Regions from separate parts of the Homo sapiens genome. Here regions 2, 3, 4, 5, 6 and 7 are each linked to region 1. Evidence: promoter capture Hi-C in 16 types of primary human blood cells and fetal thymus (Javierre and others, 2016). All regions are on one chromosome and are shown on one strand. The core of a region is centred on a gene start or on the middle of the fragment in contact, and the rest is flanking DNA. Distances in the headings are between cores, read along the strand shown. Region 1 holds the start of USP38 (ubiquitin specific peptidase 38). Region 2 holds the start of LSM6 (LSM6 homolog, U6 small nuclear RNA and mRNA degradation associated). Region 3 has its middle 2.2 kb from the start of ZNF827. Region 4 overlaps SCOC-AS1 (SCOC antisense RNA 1). Region 5 holds the start of ELMOD2 (ELMO domain containing 2). Region 6 overlaps SCOC (short coiled-coil protein). Region 7 overlaps MMAA (metabolism of cobalamin associated A).

What was found. Contacts are between HindIII fragments. The CHiCAGO score rates a contact against its expected background, and 5 or more counts as called.
Region 2: the fragment with the promoter of LSM6 here is called in contact with the fragment with the promoter of USP38 in region 1 in 1 of 17 cell types (non-activated CD4 T cells); the score reaches 6.1 in non-activated CD4 T cells.
Region 3: a contact is called between a fragment that was not itself captured here and the fragment with the promoter of USP38 in region 1, in 1 of 17 cell types (non-activated CD4 T cells). The highest score is 5.6, in non-activated CD4 T cells.
Region 4: a contact is called between a fragment that was not itself captured here and the fragment with the promoter of USP38 in region 1, in 2 of 17 cell types (non-activated CD4 T cells and total CD4 T cells). The highest score is 10.7, in non-activated CD4 T cells.
Region 5: the fragment with the promoter of ELMOD2 here is called in contact with the fragment with the promoter of USP38 in region 1 in 5 of 17 cell types (activated CD4 T cells, non-activated CD4 T cells, naive CD8 T cells and 2 more); the score reaches 7.0 in activated CD4 T cells.
Region 6: a contact is called between a fragment that was not itself captured here and the fragment with the promoter of USP38 in region 1, in 1 of 17 cell types (non-activated CD4 T cells). The highest score is 6.0, in non-activated CD4 T cells.
Region 7: a contact is called between a fragment that was not itself captured here and the fragment with the promoter of USP38 in region 1, in 6 of 17 cell types (non-activated CD4 T cells, total CD4 T cells, total B cells and 3 more). The highest score is 13.2, in non-activated CD4 T cells.

What each region holds. Positions count from the first base shown.
Region 1 is chr4:143,183,600-143,186,399 of GRCh38, forward strand. USP38 (ubiquitin specific peptidase 38) reads left to right here and starts at 1,318. Exons shown (of 10, transcript NM_032557.6): 1 at 1,318-2,533. The coding sequence starts at 1,852. It overlaps USP38-DT (USP38 divergent transcript), which reads right to left and starts at 1,262. Exons shown (of 4, transcript NR_185979.1): 1 at 909-1,262. RefSeq lists enhancers at 368-1,253, 1,254-2,138 and silencers at 1,190-1,239, 1,460-1,709. The HindIII fragment of the contact is 4,447 bases long and covers 1-2,800 here.
Region 2 is chr4:146,174,340-146,177,039 of GRCh38, forward strand. LSM6 (LSM6 homolog, U6 small nuclear RNA and mRNA degradation associated) reads left to right here and starts at 1,379. Exons shown (of 4, transcript NM_007080.3): 1 at 1,379-1,472. RefSeq lists a silencer at 1,529-1,588. The HindIII fragment of the contact is 3,935 bases long and covers 1-2,700 here.
Region 3 is chr4:145,939,671-145,942,370 of GRCh38, forward strand. No RefSeq gene overlaps it. Among named protein-coding and RNA genes, the nearest start is that of ZNF827, 2.2 kb to the left of the region's middle. The HindIII fragment of the contact is 1,370 bases long and covers 660-2,029 here.
Region 4 is chr4:140,362,275-140,364,974 of GRCh38, forward strand. All of the region lies in intron 2 of SCOC-AS1 (SCOC antisense RNA 1), which reads right to left. It also overlaps a transcript of SCOC not described here. Among named protein-coding and RNA genes, the nearest start is that of SCOC-AS1, 9.8 kb to the right of the region's middle. The HindIII fragment of the contact is 1,321 bases long and covers 761-2,081 here.
Region 5 is chr4:140,522,696-140,525,507 of GRCh38, forward strand. ELMOD2 (ELMO domain containing 2) reads left to right here and starts at 1,473. Exons shown (of 9, transcript NM_153702.4): 1 at 1,473-1,585; 2 at 2,725-2,812. The coding sequence starts at 2,734. RefSeq lists silencers at 1,175-1,524, 1,715-1,834. The HindIII fragment of the contact is 7,186 bases long and covers 1-2,695 here.
Region 6 is chr4:140,380,550-140,383,249 of GRCh38, forward strand. It overlaps SCOC (short coiled-coil protein), which reads left to right. Exons shown (of 4, transcript NM_001153484.2): 4 at 413-2,700. The coding sequence ends at 555. Among named protein-coding and RNA genes, the nearest start is that of SCOC, 8.3 kb to the left of the region's middle. The HindIII fragment of the contact is 3,889 bases long and covers 1-2,700 here.
Region 7 is chr4:145,620,040-145,622,739 of GRCh38, forward strand. The region is part of intron 1 of MMAA (metabolism of cobalamin associated A); the gene reads left to right. It also overlaps the pseudogene NCOA4P3. Among named protein-coding and RNA genes, the nearest start is that of MMAA, 2.0 kb to the left of the region's middle. The HindIII fragment of the contact is 3,337 bases long and covers 1-2,700 here.

The DNA.
Region 1 (2,800 bases), core at 68-2,567:
TTCTATATTACCTTTGTCTTCCACTGTGGCATTATTCCCAGTAAAGACAAACATCTGTGTACCTTCACCTCCTATTGGAAAAATCATTCCTGTCTCTAGCATGACTGATAGATTAATTACCTCAATTCTCTTTTATCTTCCGTATCTTCCTACGAGTCAACTTGGTCTTAAGTTCCCTTTTACTCAAGCTCCTGTCTCCTCTAAACTGCTCTTCTTAAGACTACCATAATCGACGTGTGAATATATTAGTGTAATCGTGTTTGTAACTTGGTAAAAAAACAAAACACTATTTAGCAAACTGAAGTAACAGAATTTTGTTCATTTTTCTACGGGACATTTTAAATGACCTATTTCTTTAAAGTTTTGTCTGTATTACAGGGCCTTAATGTCTAGTTTCACAACTATATTAACCAAGCCTGAAGCAGGCTACAGTTAGGCAATATTTTCCAATATAAAGACCTCTGATTAAATTCTTACTGTGAATCTTCGGAATTTGGCATGAAACAGAACAAGCATGATTGCACCTGTTCTTCCCTATTGTAAACCATCTTCGGTGTCAACATATACAATAAGTTTTGTGGTATTTCCACCTGGTTTTCTATTTTCAAAGTACCCTTGTATGACACAGGTATAAAAATATTTTGATTCTAATCTGCCATTTTCCTTACTCTCACACTTTTTTGGACGGCTTATAATTTTCGATATGGTACAAAGCTCACTAACTGGTTCTTTGCTAGAGGCCTGCTACTGATACTGATGGTCGCTAAATGCTAGGTACGCCGCCAGTATTGCTCTTACTTCAATACCGACATCGCAGGATAAAGGCAGTCACATTTAGGCGCGCAAGCGCAATTCTTGATTAATGAGCCAAGGCAGACTTCTCAATCCGAGTTTTGAGTTTTCCTTACTTTTCCCCCAAATGCTCTTTTCCTCGGATTTCACATCGATAGCACTTATTCGAGTTTTCACGAGTAACCTGACGCAGGCGGAACCGACGAAGACTAGCCGGCAAGAATCCTACAGTCGCAGCCATCTGCGCAGCGTCCGCCGGGGACGCTCCGCGCGGAAGACCGCCTGTGACTCGACACACTCTCCAGTGACGCGGCCGTCGCCGCACCTGCGCGGCGGGGCGGGAAGGAGACTCCCAGCGCCGGGGGGAAGGGAGTCTACGACTCGGGAGGGAGGTGGGGGAGCAGGGAGGGAGAGAGGGAACAAGGGAGAAGGAGAGAGGCGGACAGGCGGAGGGGCGGAGGGGCAGAGGGGCGGAGGGGCGGTCCTTCCGGAGGTTCTTAGGTCCTTCACTTCCTGTTTGCCGGCACTTCAAAATCCGGGTCAAAGGGTGTCGCTTCGGTCTCTTCTCCCCGGCTGATCCCAGCACTCTCCGTGACAGCGCCTCCTGACTCAGCCCAGGACCGGCTTCTTCTCACGACCTGCTGGAGACTGGACGCCCACACCTGACCCGGAACTCGGAGGCGTGCTTCCTCCACCCGCCGGCTAGCAGCCCCGGGCCCTGAGCTCCCGCCGACGCCGCTGGGGGGCCCGACAGGCCCCTCGGCGCTGATGCTGAGTGGGATCGAGGGCCCGGGGCGGCGGCGGAGTACGGGCCTCTGGCGCCTTAGGCCAGCCGCAGGTGTCGGTTCTTAGGCTCTCCAGGCTCGCTAGCTCCCGCCCCGGCTTGGATGGGTCTCCCTGCGCCATAAATGTGGCTGCTGAGGCGGCGGTGGCCGTGGCCCGTCGCGCTGCTGCTGCGGCGCTCCAAGTTCATCTCCGCCCCGGGGCTCTCCTGCCCCACCTCGGGGCTGCCGCCACCCGCTCCTTATCCCCTGGCCCTGGCCTTGCAGCGTGGCGACAATGGACAAGATCCTGGAGGGCCTTGTGAGTTCCTCGCATCCCCTGCCCCTCAAGCGGGTGATTGTGCGGAAGGTGGTGGAATCGGCGGAGCACTGGCTAGACGAGGCGCAGTGCGAGGCCATGTTTGACCTGACGACCCGGCTCATCCTGGAGGGCCAGGACCCTTTCCAGCGGCAGGTGGGGCACCAGGTGCTGGAGGCCTACGCACGATACCACCGGCCAGAGTTCGAGTCCTTCTTCAACAAGACCTTCGTGTTGGGCCTCCTTCATCAGGGCTACCACTCTCTGGACAGGAAGGATGTAGCCATCCTGGACTACATTCACAACGGCCTGAAGCTGATTATGAGCTGTCCGTCGGTGCTGGATCTCTTTAGCCTCCTGCAGGTAGAGGTGTTACGGATGGTGTGTGAGAGGCCGGAGCCGCAGCTCTGTGCCCGACTGAGCGACCTTCTGACCGACTTTGTGCAATGCATCCCCAAGGGGAAATTGTCCATCACGTTCTGTCAACAGCTGGTTCGAACGATAGGCCATTTCCAGTGCGTGTCCACCCAGGAAAGAGAGCTGCGGGAATATGTCTCCCAGGTGACAAAAGTGAGTAACTTGCTGCAGAACATCTGGAAGGCCGAGCCTGCCACACTACTGCCTTCCCTGCAAGAAGTTTTTGCAAGCATCTCTTCCACAGGTAAGGGTCATTATCTTTCAGAATATCTCATAAAAAATCAGTATATGTCTCTCTTGCACACACACATTCACACCATGTTTTCCTCCTGCCCTAAAAACATTCTTAAGCGAGAGCAAATCCTAATACCTCATCCCAAATTTATTCACATTCACTACCTTATTCAGGACGTCACATCGTACTTTAAAAACAGGCAGCGTTCCCATTTTAAAGGTTGAGAACGTCCAGGTCTAAGACCTTTGGCACTAAACAAGTTGCTTAATTACCCAG
Region 2 (2,700 bases), core at 129-2,628, 3.0 Mb after region 1:
TTAATTCAGGATGCCCACCCCGTGTGTCAAACTGGGCCCTTACCCAGCTACTCCCCTTAGAGAAGGTTGCAGCTGCTCAGCAGATGAACTAGGCCCTTAAAACTCCTCATGGCTCCCTACCCACCACACTAGTGTTAACGGCTCGATTAGGGCTCTGTAGGAAAGGGAAAGAAGTTTGAATCAAAAATTTTCTTTTTTTTTTTAATAATTTAAACAATCAGTAAGGAATGTGCAATTTGATGTCGTTTGCAAAGAAAGTTTTTAGGAACAGGGCTTTTTATCCTATTATGTTTGTTCTTTGCACGTAATTATTTGATTTAAATGGTACTTTTCTTAAAATTTTTATTTACATTGTATTTTATATTGCAAGAACTTCAAATACAGCCCTCACAATAAATCAGTAACTGTTCGGTCTTTATCCAAACTGAACTTTTATAGAAGGATATAAGGAAGTCTCTATTCTTTAACAAATCATATCCAGTTGTTTTCTGTCCCTGATATCAATCAAAAGTTCATTTCTTCTGCCTTTAACCAAAAGAAGTTTACAAGGGAGGAACTCTTTATCTTCGAAAAAAATTTTGCATCTTAGATTTTATAACACCTAATGGGGTTAAGGATCTGTGTTGAAAGATCTTATCACTCTGTGTATAGTGTTACAAATCATAAATATAATTAAAGTATAAGTTTTCAACTGATGAGAGTATATGTGGAGGGGGAAAAACGAATCAAGTCCTGGTGTAACAGTTCTCTTCTTTTTCCCTTTCAATTCCATTAATAGAAAGAGTATTGAGAATTCATGCAAAATTCCAAACCAAGTTCCCATAGTAGCACTGAAATAAGTCTGCACACCATTTCCAATAGGAACTAGTAATGTAACACAATTAATGTCATTATAATTTGGAGTTACTTGAGTGATTTTGATTATTTTTGTATCAATTAACATTGCCATGGAAACAGTCTCTTGCTAAAATGGCTTAAGTCTTCACACATTTAATCAATATCCAGAGGTAGATTTAAAGACTTGAGGTGTTTCATTTATTTATTTATTTGCTTTAAACTATTCAAGGACGTTTCTGGGTACACAATGCCGTTACTTAAACAGTAAATTCCAGTTTCCTATGACTTCAAGTTATTTTTTACACTTCTGTAAATAAATCCTGCCCAAAAGATCACTTCTAGTTTCCTGGAATTTTGTTTTTGTTTTGTATTGTATTTGTTTTGTACTCAGATTTCTGTTAGAGGAACTCCACTGCACCAATTTTGCTACTAGACAAACCAGGAATCTTGGATTTGCGCGCTTTGGTGCTGACAGGCTTTTTCGGCCCCAGCGGGCTGCCGTAGCAGAGAAGAGCACTGATTGGCTGAGGCAGAAAAGTGCCCCTGCCTCGGCGCTTTCGGTTTTGGCTGGGATCATCCGCGGCGGCCGGGCTCGTGGGGCGCCTGGAGTGAGGGTTCTGGTTCCCGCCGGCGAGGTGAGCCGCACCGCTGCGCGGGCCGACGACGGGGCCGGGCGCAGCCCCAGGTTCGGTGCCCCAGTGTTCAGTCGCGCTGTGGAGCGGCGGCTGCAGCGGCCCTAGGCCGGGCGAGGCAGCCCCGGAAAGGGCCTGCGGTGAACAGGCTGGGGCTCCGGGAAGGGACCGCTGGGTGGCGGGTCCCCGCGAAATGCCGCGTCCAAGCTCTCCGCGCATGGAATGGCTGGGAGAGGTCTGATGGTGGGCGCCGGGACCGCCCTCAGCGAGGCGCCTAGACTGCGCGGAGAGGAGCGGCACCGTCCCGGCTCCTACCGAGTTGGCGTCCGAGATCAATTCAGGTTGTTGAAGTTCCCCAGGGAGCCCCGACGCTAATCCCAAGATTCGGCGGGAAAGCGGATCCCGAACCCAGGCCTAGGCTTCGCCTGTCTTCCAGGAGGGCTTCAGGGAATTGCGAACCCTCTCCTACATCGGGGTGGCTGCGCCTGACCACAGGAATTAAAGGCTGGACTCGCCTGTCTTACCAAGTTGTCAGGTCGAGGAACCCGATTGTATGGTCTTAAGTCCTATCGCCCAAGGTTTTCTGTGCGTATGCGTGTCCGCACACCTGCATAGCAGGCATTTTTAAGGTGTGTAGGATTAAGATGATGCGGATTACCCTGCCCCACTGCTCTTAGTAATACGTGACTATTGTAGAAAATTGCAAACATAGAAGACTTTAGTGAAGAAAATAATATTCACTGAACCCTTTCACCTACGATCATTTTCTCTTGTATGTGCTAGCTTCTACTTGAACTAAGAGTGTACATGTTTAATCACTTAACAGTGTAGTTTTCCACTTCCATTTAAAAACTCTTCCTAAATATTATTCTAATTTTGTATCTTCTTTTGATTGTCCTATCATTGTGGGTCCCAGTTTAGGTCCCGTAAATTATTCAGTCATTTCCCGATTGTGGGACATTAGATTGTTTTTGAATTTTTACATCATCTTAGCATCCCAGATAGTGCTTTGATAAACTCTTTTCCCCCTATTTTTTAGATTATTTCCTTGGACTAGATTCTCAGAAGTGAAATTATCAGATTAGATGCTGTCATCTGAAAGGTCTGTTTTAGGCCTTCATACACATTGCTGCAGTGTTTTCCAAAAAAGTTTTAGAGATGTTTGGTAATTTTACTTGCTTAAATATTGTGCAGAAATCTTGAGAGGCTTGTGTTTGTGGTGTGTGTGTGT
Region 3 (2,700 bases), core at 95-2,594, 2.8 Mb after region 1:
GCATTATGAGCCCAATATAGCAGTTTTCATTAACTGATACATACTTTCATTACCTTACAAATCACACATCTTTCTTCAAAGAGAGACATAAAGGAGAAAAATAGAAAAGGACGGGTCTCACTAGAGCACAAAAGGTACTTGGTGAAAGAGGACTGTTCTCTTTGTGACTTGCAGTCATTTGGATAAAAGTTCACTCAGAGGTTGTTAATGATTTAAACTCCAAAACCTGCTACTATAATTGAAATAAAAATGGTCTGAAGAAGAGTTGTTTCATAAAACTCTCTTTGTAAGAGGAAACTTTGAACTTAGCAGAATACATTATATGTCATGAGTCATGTAGCTAGAAAATAAAAAGGTGCATTATTTAACTACATCTTCCCTTTTTAGCTTTTTTAAAACTCTGACTCATCATCTTATTATGTTAAATATTTTCCTACCAATTTTTAAATAGACCTTTTCATCAAAGAAAGTGGAGGCACAGTAAAGACATAGAACATTAAAATGACACTCTATAAGCCTACATGGATAACTCATGCCTCTTTGAGGTTGAGTTAATTCTTACAACTTCAGTGGTGTTAAAGAGAGCCATGGGGGTTAAATTCTGACTTGCCTTATTAAAAATAATAATAAGGCTTTATATTGCACACTTTTATAAGTGAAGCTTAAAGAGTGCTGTATCTCCCAAAAGATGTCTTTCACTGATAGAGAAATCTCACGTTCAACCCCTCCCTGCCAACTCCCCCCAAAAGATCTAGCTTCCCAGTAACAAGTAATGCTATTGAAAGCGAGGTTTGAAACACCTGCATGAATTCAATCTAAAACCAAAACAGAGAGCAGTCAAGTTTAAAATGGAGCACCCTGTAATCCCAGCACTTTGGGAGGCGGAAGTGGGCAGATCACGAGGTCAAGAGATCGAGACCATCCTGGCCAACATGGTGAAATCCCGTCTCTACTAAAAATACAAAAATTAGCTGGATGTAGTGGCACACTCCTGTAGTCCCAGCTACTTGGGAGACTGAGGCAGGAGAATCGCTTGAACCTGGGAGGCGGAGGTTGCAGTGAGCCGAGATCGGGCCACTGCACTCCAGCCTGGCGACAGAGCGAGACTCCATCTCAAAAAAAAAAAAAAAAAAAAAAAAGGAGCATCATCCTTAAACCAGTTCTTCCTCAAATGTTGGTTTTAAAAAACTGGTAGTTAGGTTGCCCTGCATTATAATTTGAAATATAACTATCTTTCCACTCAGGTCAAATTCAATTTGCCATAATTTTGACTATTGTCGGTGACATTGGACTTGAAATTAATATATTAATGATAAATTAGAGCCCATCCTTTCCAAGTAGACCAATGCTCTGAGTGTGTAGAATCTTTACAGCTGAACAAAATGGTCACCACACTTCACCACTGCTCTCTCAGAACCTTTGGCTAGGGTGTTCAGGATTATGACTCTGCATAGACACACCACTACCTTTTCTGAATTGCTAGGACTCTTCCTAATGTTTAGTTTGCTATAATTGAAAACACACTTTAGGCCTTTCCTCAAAGCAGAGTACATTTCCTGCGACCTTTTAAAGGCATGCAGGAAAATGCTGTCAACTTTTAATTATATAGGTGTTCTATCAACAGCCAAAAGCATTTTTAAATTGAATTTATTCATACCTCCACCTCTTTCCAAAAATTATTTGAAATAGTACACAACAATAGAAAATGGAAATAAGGACAGAACAATTTCCGTTTCAATCTCAGGTTGGTACCTTTATGCTATAAAACACTCTTCAAGGTCATTTGCATCTCACCCTCAATCGCTGTATGCTCAGGGAACACAAACTAATTTTAATGTCAGACTAACAAAAACATTAGGAAAATAAATACTTGGGGGTTACGATAATGGATTTCAAAATCAAATGCATAAATAATTTTGGAAATGTATGCTTTTGGGATATATATACCCATGAACCATGAGCTTTGATTATTGTTGGCCATACTCATCAGATTGGAATATTCTATTTGATTCACCCCACCCATGGACTAAGCTTTAAAAAGCATATTTTATCTTAATAATTATAGTACTCTCTCCACCCCCATCTCCATTACCTCTCAAATGTGAAATTAAAATAGATTTTCTCAAAACTGTGCACTCTAAGAAGAAGTTTCATAAACACTCTCACAGAAGTGAAATCTATTCAAGCTCAAATATTGCTAACGATGAGTAGACAAAGGGAGCACTTACCCTAGAATAGTGTGTGGTCTGCAGGTCCGAAACTACTTTCATACTATCCAGAGTCCATGAGGTCAGAACTACTTGCATACTAACAGTAAGATGTTATTTGTCTTTTTATCTGTGTTGACATTTGCACTGATGATGCAAAAGCAATGGTGGGTAAAAATGCCACATCTTAGCACTAATCAGGGCAGAGCACCAAAAAGTATAATAGTGATCCTATTCTTCACCATCATGCACTTAGAGGAAGGAAAAAGGGAGGTTCATCTAAGAATGTCCTTGATAGAGCAGTAAAAATTATTAATTGTATTACATCTCAATCCTTAAGTACAAGACTTTTAAATATTCTTTGTTGACAAAAAGGTAGATACATATAAAGCACTTCTGCTGCATACTGAAATACATAGGTTGTCTGAAGGAAAATCACTTGTGAGATTGTTTGAAATAGCCACTTTTTAATGGAATGCTATTTTTACTTGAA
Region 4 (2,700 bases), core at 171-2,670, 2.8 Mb before region 1:
TTACTTCTTCTTCTTCTTCTTCTTCTTTTTTTTTTTTTTTTGTGAGAGTCTCGCTCTGCTGCCCAGGCTGGAGTGCAGTAGTGTGATCTTGGCTCACTGCAACCTCCACCTCCTGGGTTCAAGCGATTCTCCTGCCTCAGCCTCCCAAGTAGCTGAGACTACAGGCCAAGCCACCATGCCCGGCTAATTTTTGTATTTTTATTACAGACAGGGTTTCACTATATTGGCCAAGTTGGTCTGGAACTCCTGACCTCAAGTGATCTGCTCACCTCAGCCACCAAAAGTGCTGGGATTACAGGCGTGAGCCACTGTGCCCAGCTGTTACTTCTTATTGTTGTAGGGTTTGGTCAAATAGTGGAAAAGAAAGGTTAGGGAGGGAGCTACAAAAATACTACTTGACTTATTTTAAAAATATTTCTATTAATGGCCACTGACTTCTACTGATGCTTCTTTAATCTCCAGCTGGTGTGGTTCTCTTCCTTTTTAAACTTTAGATATCCAACCAACATTTTCTGAGACATTTTGTGGTATTTCCCTTAGGATACTATATAAGGAAGGAGGAAGAAAAACAGGAGTTTGACACAGAACTAAAGATCATTCAATTTAGAGGTTTTTGGGAGAAGCAAACTGGGATGGGCCCTGAGTGTCATTGCATATTCTTGCTGGTATGCCAAGAATACAGTCAACCCAGGCTTTACTCAGGTATGTTTTCAGAGAGCAACTTTAAGGGATGAGGTAATGCCTCTCTGGTTAAAGAGCAAGCTTGCTTCCACTTGCCATAAAAGCCAAAGATTCCCCAAACTCAATGTTCCTCTCCTATATTATAACCCGCTGCATGTATAGGCATCTACAGGGGCCCTCTGCCTCATCCCTGTGGGACTTGGGGGACATAGGTAACAGCAACAAATCAGCATGAAGCTCATGATGAGCTGGGAGTAAGAGAGTCCTTAGACTCTGACCCAGACATCTCATGTCTTCCGCCAGCATTCATGAAACAGGCAATCGTTAGCTTGTAAGTGCAGCTGACCTTTGAACACCATGGGTTTGAACTGCATGAGTCCACTTGTATGCATTTTTTTCAGTAAATATAATGGAAAATTTTTTGGAGATTGTGACAATTTGGAAAAATTCACAAACTTCATAGCCTAGAAATATATAAAAAATTAGGTATGTCACAAATGCATAAACATATGTAGATACTAGTCTGTGTTACTATTACCATAAAATATCACAAATCTATTATAAAAAGTTACAATTTATCAAAACTTATGCACATGCTTACAGAGCACACATGGCACCATTTGCAGTTGAGAGAAATGTAAACAAATGTACAGATGCTGTATTAAACCATAAGTGCATAAAATTAACTGTAGTACATACTGTACTACCATCATAATTTCACAGCCACTTCCTGCTGCTATTGCTGTGAGCTTAAGTGCTGTGAGTATCCACTTAAAATGCCATGGGATGCTAATTATCTCTGTGTGAGCAGTTCATCTCTCTGGTAAATTGCCTATAGCAGTAAAAAGTAATCTCTTGTGGTTCTCTAGTGTTTTTTCATTGTGTTTAGTGCAATACTGTAAACCTTGAATAACACCATGGCACCCATACAAAGTGCCACTAGTGATGCTGGAAGTGCTCCCAAGAAGCAGAGAAAATTCATGACATTACAAGACAAAGTTGAATTGCTTGATATGTATTGCAGATTGAAGTCTGCAGCTGTGGTTGCCCACCGTTTCAAGATAAATGAATTCAGCTTAAGAAAGATTGTAAAAAAAGAAAAGGAAATTCATGAAGCTATCACTGCAGCTACACCAGCAAGCATGAAAAACTTACACTTTTTGCAAAATACCTTTTTATCTAGTATTGAAAATGCAGTTTTTCTGTGGGAATGCAGGATTGCTATAAGAAAGGCATACCTACTGTGATGTGATTTGAGAAAAAGCGAAGTCATTATATGACAACTTAGAGCAAAAGGAAGGCGAAGGATGTAAACCTGAAGAATTTAATGCTGGCAAAGGATGGCTTAATAATTTTAGGAAGAGGTTTGGCTTTAAAAATGTCAAGATAATTAAAGAAGAAGCTTCTGCCAATCAAGAGACAGCAGACAAGTTTCCAGATGCCATTAAGAAAATCATTGAGGAGACAGAATATCTGCCTGAACAGGTTTCTAATGCAGATCAAAGTGCCCTATTCTGGAAAAAAAATCCACAAAGGACATTTATTAGTAAGGAAGAGAAGTGAGCACCAGGATTTAAGGCAGGAAGGGATAGGCTACCTATACTGTTTTGTGCAAATGCAGGGGGGTTATGATCAGGACTGCCCTTATCTATAAAGCTGCTCATCCCTGAGCCTTGAAGGGAAAAGAAAAACATCAGCTGCCAGTCTTAATGGCTGTACAACAAGAAGGCCCAGACAATGAGAACCCTTTTTCTGGATTGTTTCCATCAATGCTTTGTCCCTGAAGTCAGGAATTACCTTGCCCATAGGGACTACCTTTAAATTTTTTTCTGATATTGGACAGTGCCTCTGGCCACCCAGAACCCCATGAGGTCAAAACTGAAGCTGTCAATGTGGTCTACTTGCCCCCAAACACAATGTCTTTAATTCAGCTTCTAGATCCTTGGCTCTTAAGAACCCTTAAGCCTTATTACACAGGGTACTCAATGGAAAGGACTGTCAATGCCATGGAAGAGAATT
Region 5 (2,812 bases), core at 223-2,722, 2.7 Mb before region 1:
TGGAGATCCTCCTGAAATAGAAGTTAGTTTACAGGTCAATTTGCCAAATCGGCTGTGCACTTTGCCTTTCTAAATCTTTTAATCTATAATTTTAAAAATTACATTAGATGATAGTTATAAGTTCTCTTTAAGATTTAAGATTCTGTGATTTTACTATTGTAGTGTCTATCCAGACTTCATTACCAAGTTCATTGTTGGTATGGGACAGGGATGACGGCTTATGCACCCTGCACATGGCTAGTGTTCTACAATTAGTCCATTTTTTAAACGCTGGTTGAGATGTGGGAAAGTATGTATCACTTGCTTCAATTCAAGGAGTTGGAAGGAATATACATATATACACTTGCATATAATATTTTTGGAATTAGAAACAAGAAAGTAATACTGGTTGCTTCTGAGCAAGGTGACGGAGGTATCAGGAGTTTTGGGTGGATGGGGAAATTTGTTTTCAGTATCAGTTGTCCTTTGTATTTATATTCTACTCTCCCCCTTGCTCTTTCTCCTCCAGCCACCCCGGCCTTCTTGCTCTTCCTCCAACATTTCAAAAACCCTCCCAATTCAAGGTCTTTGCACTTGTCATTCTGGTGCCTGGATCACTCTCCCTCCAGATACTCCCACAGTAAACTCCCTTACTTCGTTCAATGAGGCCAAAATGCCACGTTAATAATGAGACTTCCTTGACCACACTGTATGCAATGACTTCCCCCACAGACTCCCCATTACCCCTTAGCTAACAACCCCTATACCCTTAACATTTAGTAGCATCTGACATATTAAATATTTGGCTGTTTGTTTCGTGTTTGACTGCCTTTTGGAACACTGCCTGTGCTAACAATCAACAAATACTTGTTGAATTAAGAAACTTACTGCTTGAGGTTTTTAAAAAGTAATCACGAAATTACTTTTTCAACAAAAACAACCAGTTAGGGAATAAACATTTGATAAATTAACTTTTAGACCTATAGTATTATAGGATAAAGTCCAAACTTCGTTTCTCAACACATGGACTTTCCTCATCTGCCACGTATTGGCCACAGTCAAGTAGCCGGTTCCCTTTTCTCGTGCATAAAGTGGAGTTATTCATAATTACTTCACAGAATTAAGATTCAATGCAGATGAAAGCGCTTTTGTAACTAAGGCACTATAAGTTACCGTAAGCACAGGGTTTCTTCCGCGCTTGGAGCCTAGGAATAGTACAAGGTGTCAACCCGCGCTAAGGACCTGAGGTTCAAGGAGGGAAAAGTCTCCAGCGCAGCGCTAGGAGGCGCTACTCCGGCGCGGGGCGGGGCTCCTGGCCGCCGTTGCCAGGGAAACCGTCTGGGCGTCCCTAGTATCTGAGCCCTCGCGCCTGGGCCACTCAGCTCGACCTCTCTCCAGCGTTAGCAATAGGTGGAGCGCGGGCCAATCGGAAGAGGCCGGAGGGGCGGGGCGGGCAGTGGCCCTGGGAAGGCGGGTCCGCGGCCTCGCTCCCTGACTTCCGGGTCGCGGTGCTTGAAGGGAGTGTTCCGTCGTTTCCGTTGCCGGCTGTTTGCAGTGGGGAAACCGAGGCAGCTCCTGCTCCCCCTAGTTCTTCCGCTCCTGTGAGGTGGCTGCTGTTTCTTTTCCTCTTGCCCCGGATGCCTCGGTGCGGCTGCACTGAGAGCGCGCGGGCTCGCGAGCCCCGCGGGGTTCTGCGGGAACCCGGGGGCGCCTGGGCCGGCGGGTCTTTGTGCGAGCCCTGCCCTCCCATTCGCGGGCGGCGCGCGAGGGGGGTCGGCGCAGAGACGCCCAGAGCCCTGGGGTGCTCAGGCGCCGCTACGCGTGCATCCCCTCTGCTCGGCAGTTCTGCGCTTTTGTCCTAATGAGCGCGGACTAGATGGCTTGATTTTCAAGATAATGATCAACCCAGCTGTGCTATGCGCTCTTTCTGCACTGACCTGCGGGTACTTCGAACTTCGACAGTCCCTCCTCAGGCCCTAGTCCAGAGGTGACGTGTCTGTGGGAATGTTTAAGGCAGGAAGGAGACGAGCAATTTTGTTTTTAAGTATCTCCCTCTCACTAGTATCTCCCTGACTTTTTCATTTAGAAGCTGAAGAATTTTCTTATGGCATAAGATATAGTTGTATCGAGTGTGTACTTAGCAAAACAAAAACTTGTTAGTATTTCTGCCCTTGACCTATTGAATGGAAAATCAAGAATGAGCTAAGGTGTTATATACTCAGTGTTCAACTTGTATACTTAAGTTTGTAGTGTTTTTATTTGCTGGCATCACCTGACTGGGACAGTTGTAACGAATTATCCACATGGGATAAGAAGAGTGTATTCTATAAAAACAACTCTGATGTTTTGGTATATATTTTAATTGTTGATTAGTTGGAGTCCTCTTGATCTTGAACTGTTGAGCCCCAGTTCTCAAAGAATGGGAAGTTAGGAAACTAAGATATGAAATACAATTATTTAGCAAAAAGTGCAAACCATTCTGTTACTCTTTCAAGCCATTGAATAGTTTGAGTACATTGTTTGAATTTTAGTTTTGAAAAAGTGATTAATTGGCCATTTGATCATCAATTAATAGCGGTATATATTACACCTGCCATTGTTTTTAAATGCCTAATTAAACTGTCAAAACAGACACAATGAAATGATAGATACATAATTTGAGATTTGATCAGTTGTATAAACTTTTTAAATTTTAAAATTCAGTTTAAGGTCATTAAGCTTGTCTTGTATGTTTCCCTCCTCCAGGAAAAAAAAATGTTTATTTCTTTGTGGGAGTTCTTCTATGGGCACTTTTTTCGATTTTGGATGAAATGGCTATTACGACAGATGACTG
Region 6 (2,700 bases), core at 87-2,586, 2.8 Mb before region 1:
TAATGTTACAATACAAGATGATAAGTTGCTTGGAAACTGACTGCCTGTATTCAGTATATGAATTCAGTTGTGTTAACCTGATATATATCTTAAACATTTCTAGTAAAGATGTTATAGTTTTATGTTGATAAGACATGAACCAAAATTCACATTTTAAAAACAAAGTCTTTTTAAAAAATTACTCAACATTAATGCTATTTATGAAGAATAGCATTTAGTCTAATGTGAAATATCTTTTTAGGAATTTGTCTACTAATTTGTACTCAGTTTGTTTACCTTGCTGTCTCTAAAATCCGAATTCTTAAAATTTAAGGATTGTATTATTTCTTTTAAGAATGAATCCTAAGAATTTTGTAATATGGAATCATTGTCATTGTTTTATTGATAATGGGCATTTTTATTTTTTATATAGATCTCTCTGCAAGAGTAGATGCAGTTAAGGAAGAAAATCTGAAGCTAAAATCAGAAAACCAAGTTCTTGGACAATATATAGAAAATCTCATGTCAGCTTCTAGTGTTTTTCAAACAACTGACACAAAAAGCAAAAGAAAGTAAGGGATTGACACCCTTCTGTTTTATGGAATTGCTGCTGATCATTTTTTCTTTAAAACTTGGATAGATTCCAAAAGTTACAGTACCTTTGTGGCTTCATTGAATATTTATGAAGATAATGTCAGATGTAGACAAAAATAACACAATAACAGGAGACTTCCATAAGTTTGTGTATTATGTTAGTCTATGAAAACGTGCAAATGTATTGTAGAGACTTTATGATTAGAATTGCATATATTTATGAAACTTAAAGATGAATGTTTTATTGAATTTGTAGGTTTAGCACTGTCTTTTATTATAGGATTAGTAAGATATACAAGAAAATAACCACCGTGTTGTGAAAAAGTGACCAAAATCATGTACTAAATGCACAGCTTTATGTACCCTGTCCACCATCTTGTGCCTCTTCTCCATTTGCCTCTTCCTTCCTATTTCCCTTCCGCTAAGGAAAAAAATTGGTGTCACATTTGTAAAAGTAATTTTAATAGTTAATCATCTCTGAGAGTAACCTGTATTTTAATTGTTGAAACTTAACCAAAATAAGATACTGTCTCAGCTAGGGCTTGTCATTTGTGTATTTAGTGTTAAGATAGGAATGCTAGTGTCTCTTTAATTAATTGGAAATAGATGGAGGCTAAAAATGAAGGTTTTTCTTTGAAACTGAATTAACTTGGGAATATTTGTTGTTAAAAACTTCTTTTTGCCCAAAATAACTCATTTTGTATTATCTGAAAATATATAATTTCTGGTCATGTGTATGTTAAAATAGAAAATTTTGAGGAAAAATGGAAATAGGGTGGAAAAGTACTCGGTAAACAGTAGTAACCAAATATTTTCACTCCAGATTTGTGTTTTCTCTGGCACAGAGTAGATCTTTTGGGAAATATATATGAAAGTGGATTAAGTTTGACTACCCTTATGTTAGCCACATCTGGATGAGAACAGTTACAAAGAGTTTGGTCTCTAAGTTGATTTGTACCCAGTGGGTCAACTTCTGCAAAATTCCGTAATGGTGTATTAGTATTAGAATAGTGAATAAAATGGGAAAGTTATACATGTATACTTATTATCTTGCTCAGTATTTTATCTCACTTGTTCTAGAATTTTCTGTAAACCCTGCTACTGGGTTTGAAGAGTTTTAGTCATCCTTTAACAATTTTTAAAAATTTAGCTTCTAGATTCCATTTGGTAAGGAAATCAATATTGGAAGTATTGCTAAAATCTTATAATATGAAAAGAGATCCACTAATGTAGCTTAAGGTTATTAGATTTGGGCTTTTAATCATGGAATAATCTTATGTATTGGTGTAAGAGTTGATGAATGACTTTAGCTGTGTGAATATATAATAGTCAAACTGCAAACATTTTGCATCCCTTTTGTGACCTAATTTACAGACATTTAAATTGTGTTGCAGTTCTGCTTTGCCGTTTAATAAAAAGCTATTTCAGAGGTTGTGTGTGTTTTGATATAGTTGCCTAAGTAAATGGGGTATTTAGGTATAGTGGTGTATCCAGGGTTATTCAATGCCACAGAATAGTGTATCTTATTTAAGTACCCAGTTACTGATTATTTAGGGGAATAATATTTTTATTAATACAACTATAACTGGTTATCAATATAAATATCATAGGCTATTATACATTAATTTGGAAAACAAAAGCAAAGCACTCAAAGGATCCAGTATCTCCAGGGAAAAAGGAAGTTGTATTTTTTAGGGTAGGCTAAGCTACTTTAGCAAGAGACCCAGTGATAAAGAATATAAATATAGAAGTTTCTCTCCCAACCAGTGGTTCCAAGGTCAGCATTGCAGGCTAGCAGCCCTTGTTCAAACAGTTATTCAGGGACTTTGGCTGAGGATGGTGCTGCCATTTTAAATCATGGCTTTCAAGTCACTCTAGTTATTCTTCTAATTTGCAGAAAAAGAACATGGAAGTGTACATATGCAAGGTGTTATGGGCTGTGCCTGGAAATGGCTCATATATCTTCTCATATTCCAGTGGTGTGGAGACTTAGTTACATCTAGATACAAGAGGAGCTGAGAAATGTAGTCCCTGGCTGGGAAGCCATCTTCCAGCTATAAATACAAGATTTTGGTGGCTGCTAGCAGCCTCAGCCACAGCTCTTCTTGTGCTACCAAGTATCTTCCC
Region 7 (2,700 bases), core at 7-2,506, 2.4 Mb after region 1:
AGTTGTACCCTAATCCATATGTTTAGAAAACATAAACTAATAAAACTTTTCCAACTTGGTAGAAAGCCAAAAGTTTCCAGAAAAACTGTGTGGATTATTCAGCATTTTGCTGTTGTCTACAATGTTCAGAATATTCTTTTACAATAATTTTGCACTAAATACCGGTTTGTGTTCAGGGTAACAAGAGGTTTTTAAAAAGTCAAAGACAAGGACAGGTTTTTTAAGGGCTGTATTCTATTAGGAGAGACAAAACAAGCATGAAAAGTTACATATCCATAAGAAATGTAAATCACCATTTGAGATATTTGAAGATGTCAAAAGAAAACCTTTATTTAGAATGGAAAGAGCTGGTGAATGCTCGAAACATTTACCATTTAGCTGATTGTTGCCATGTGGGAATGGGGGTCTCTCAAACGCAGATCCGATTTTCTCCAACACAGGCCAAAGATCTGTATTTTTACGTATTTTTTCTTGATTTTTAATGTTACTTGCAACCAATTTAGTTAACACACACCTTCTGTGGGTGGGCCAGGTGCAACTAGTTTGTGACCTCTGCAGATTTTCACCTTAGTACAGTCCTACACTTACACAATGGTTCAGTTAAAGATTTTTTGACTTTACAGTGGGTTTATCCAGACACAGACCCGATTGTAAGATGAAGACTCTTTGTATTCAGAAATAATTGGAATTAGAGGTCAGAAAAAGTCCTAGAGACTGGGATGGTCAGGAAAGATTTTAAGCTGGGTAGTATAGGAGAGATATCATAGAGGGGGAAGGATGTAAAAGATGAGTTAAATCTTGGGGTTGGGAGAGTTGGCAGGTTTGGAAGATAGTAAACTCTCCTTAGAGGAATTTTGGAAAGGCAAGCGCAAGAGGTGCTGCTGGCCTGGGGACTACACTTTGAGAACCACTGTCCTAGGGTACGGTGAACTTTTGGAGGAATTTGAGTAGGAGGCTAAGGAGATCACATTCACCTTTCAGAATGAGTCTTGCTGTGAAGTCTGAAAGGAGGACTGAGGAGGGAGAGAGAAAAGAGGAAAGTTTCTTAGAGGTGATTAGCACCTGCTTGATGCCAGGCCCTGTGCCAGGCTCTCTCATGCATACTCATTTATACTCACCATGATCCTGATACGTAGATCTTAATGTTTTCATTTTGTAAGTGAAGGAACTTTGAGAATATGAGAAATTACCCAGGTTCCATAGTTGGTCTCAGAGCTTCCTAGTTCAAGCCTGGATTTGAAATAGGGTGGTAGCAGTGGGAATCAAAACATTTAATGGTGATGGAATTTAGAAAAATAGAGACTTCTCAAGCACATTTAAGCCTAAAAGTAGGAATTGGGAAATCTGAATCTTACTGGAAAAGTGATAAAAAGTAAAGTGGACAGAGAACTTTAGAGAATCCCTTCATGAATTTGGTATTTGTTCTTTATTACTCTTAACTCATGATGACCTATTTAAAACCTATTTAAAAGTTGCTTATTTAAGAAGTCATCCTGCTCTACAAAAGTTTCCTGAAATTATTTGAAAAAGAGAAAATAAAGCCTTCTGTGGTTGGGGGGGGTGGAATATGGTAAACAGATTAATGGCATTTGACAGCTTATCTTCAAATCAAAAGTGATTAGCATTGAGAAATGGAAACACTTGGTACAACACTGCATTGCCTGTACGAATTGTGCTGTGCTGCAGACACTGATCTACTGTATTGATTTAGGAAATTCTGTATGCTTTTTCTTGCCAGAGTAGTTATTGAAATTGAGAATATTCATTGGATCAATTTCAAGATAAATATCCCAAGTCAGACTGGCTGCTGCTGAGCAAATTTTTAATGAAGGAAAATATCCATATATTGAAATCAGTTTAAAAAGAAAGTCCTTAAAATATATTACTGTAAAATCTAGAAAAAAATGTACATTTTAGAAACATCAATTAACTGAGTAATCAGTGTAGTGGAGTTATTGACCCATGCAGAATTATGGTGTACATTCATTAATTCTGTGAGCAAATAATTGTGCTATAAATACAAAGATAACTGATATGGTTTGGCTGTGTCCCTACCCAAATCACATCTTGAATTGTAACTCCCACAATCCCCATGTGTCATGGGAGGAGCCTGGTGAGAGGTGATTGAATTATGGGGACAGGTCTTTCCTGTGCTGTTCTCATGATAGTGAATGAGTCTCATGGGATCTGATGGTTTTAAAAATGGGAGTTTCCCTACACAAGCTCTCTCTTTCCTTGCTGCCATCCATGTAAGACATGACTTGCTCCTCCTTGCCTTCAGCCATGATTGTGAGGCTTCCTCAGCCACATAGAACTGTAAGTCCATTAAACCCTTTTTCCTGTATAAATTACCCAGTCTCGGGTATGTCTTTATCAGCAGCCTGAAATCAGACTAATATACTAGATATGGCCTACTTTTGAGATATCTTACTGAATCTTGTAAAGCTGGGGAATTTCTCTTGTATTTTGATAGTGCTTAGCTTACAAATTGTAGGATGAAGCCATATTCTCGGGAATCATGAAAATTAGTTGAAACATTTTGATTTGATTATTATTATTTTATGGCTGTTATGCTTTTGATGGAGGCAGATACAAAATTCATCAATGCAAAATAATGTTTTACATACTCATTAACATAGTGATTAATGTAAACTATATTTTGACAATGTAAAATACAGTGTGTTTGGCCTCAAAAAAGAA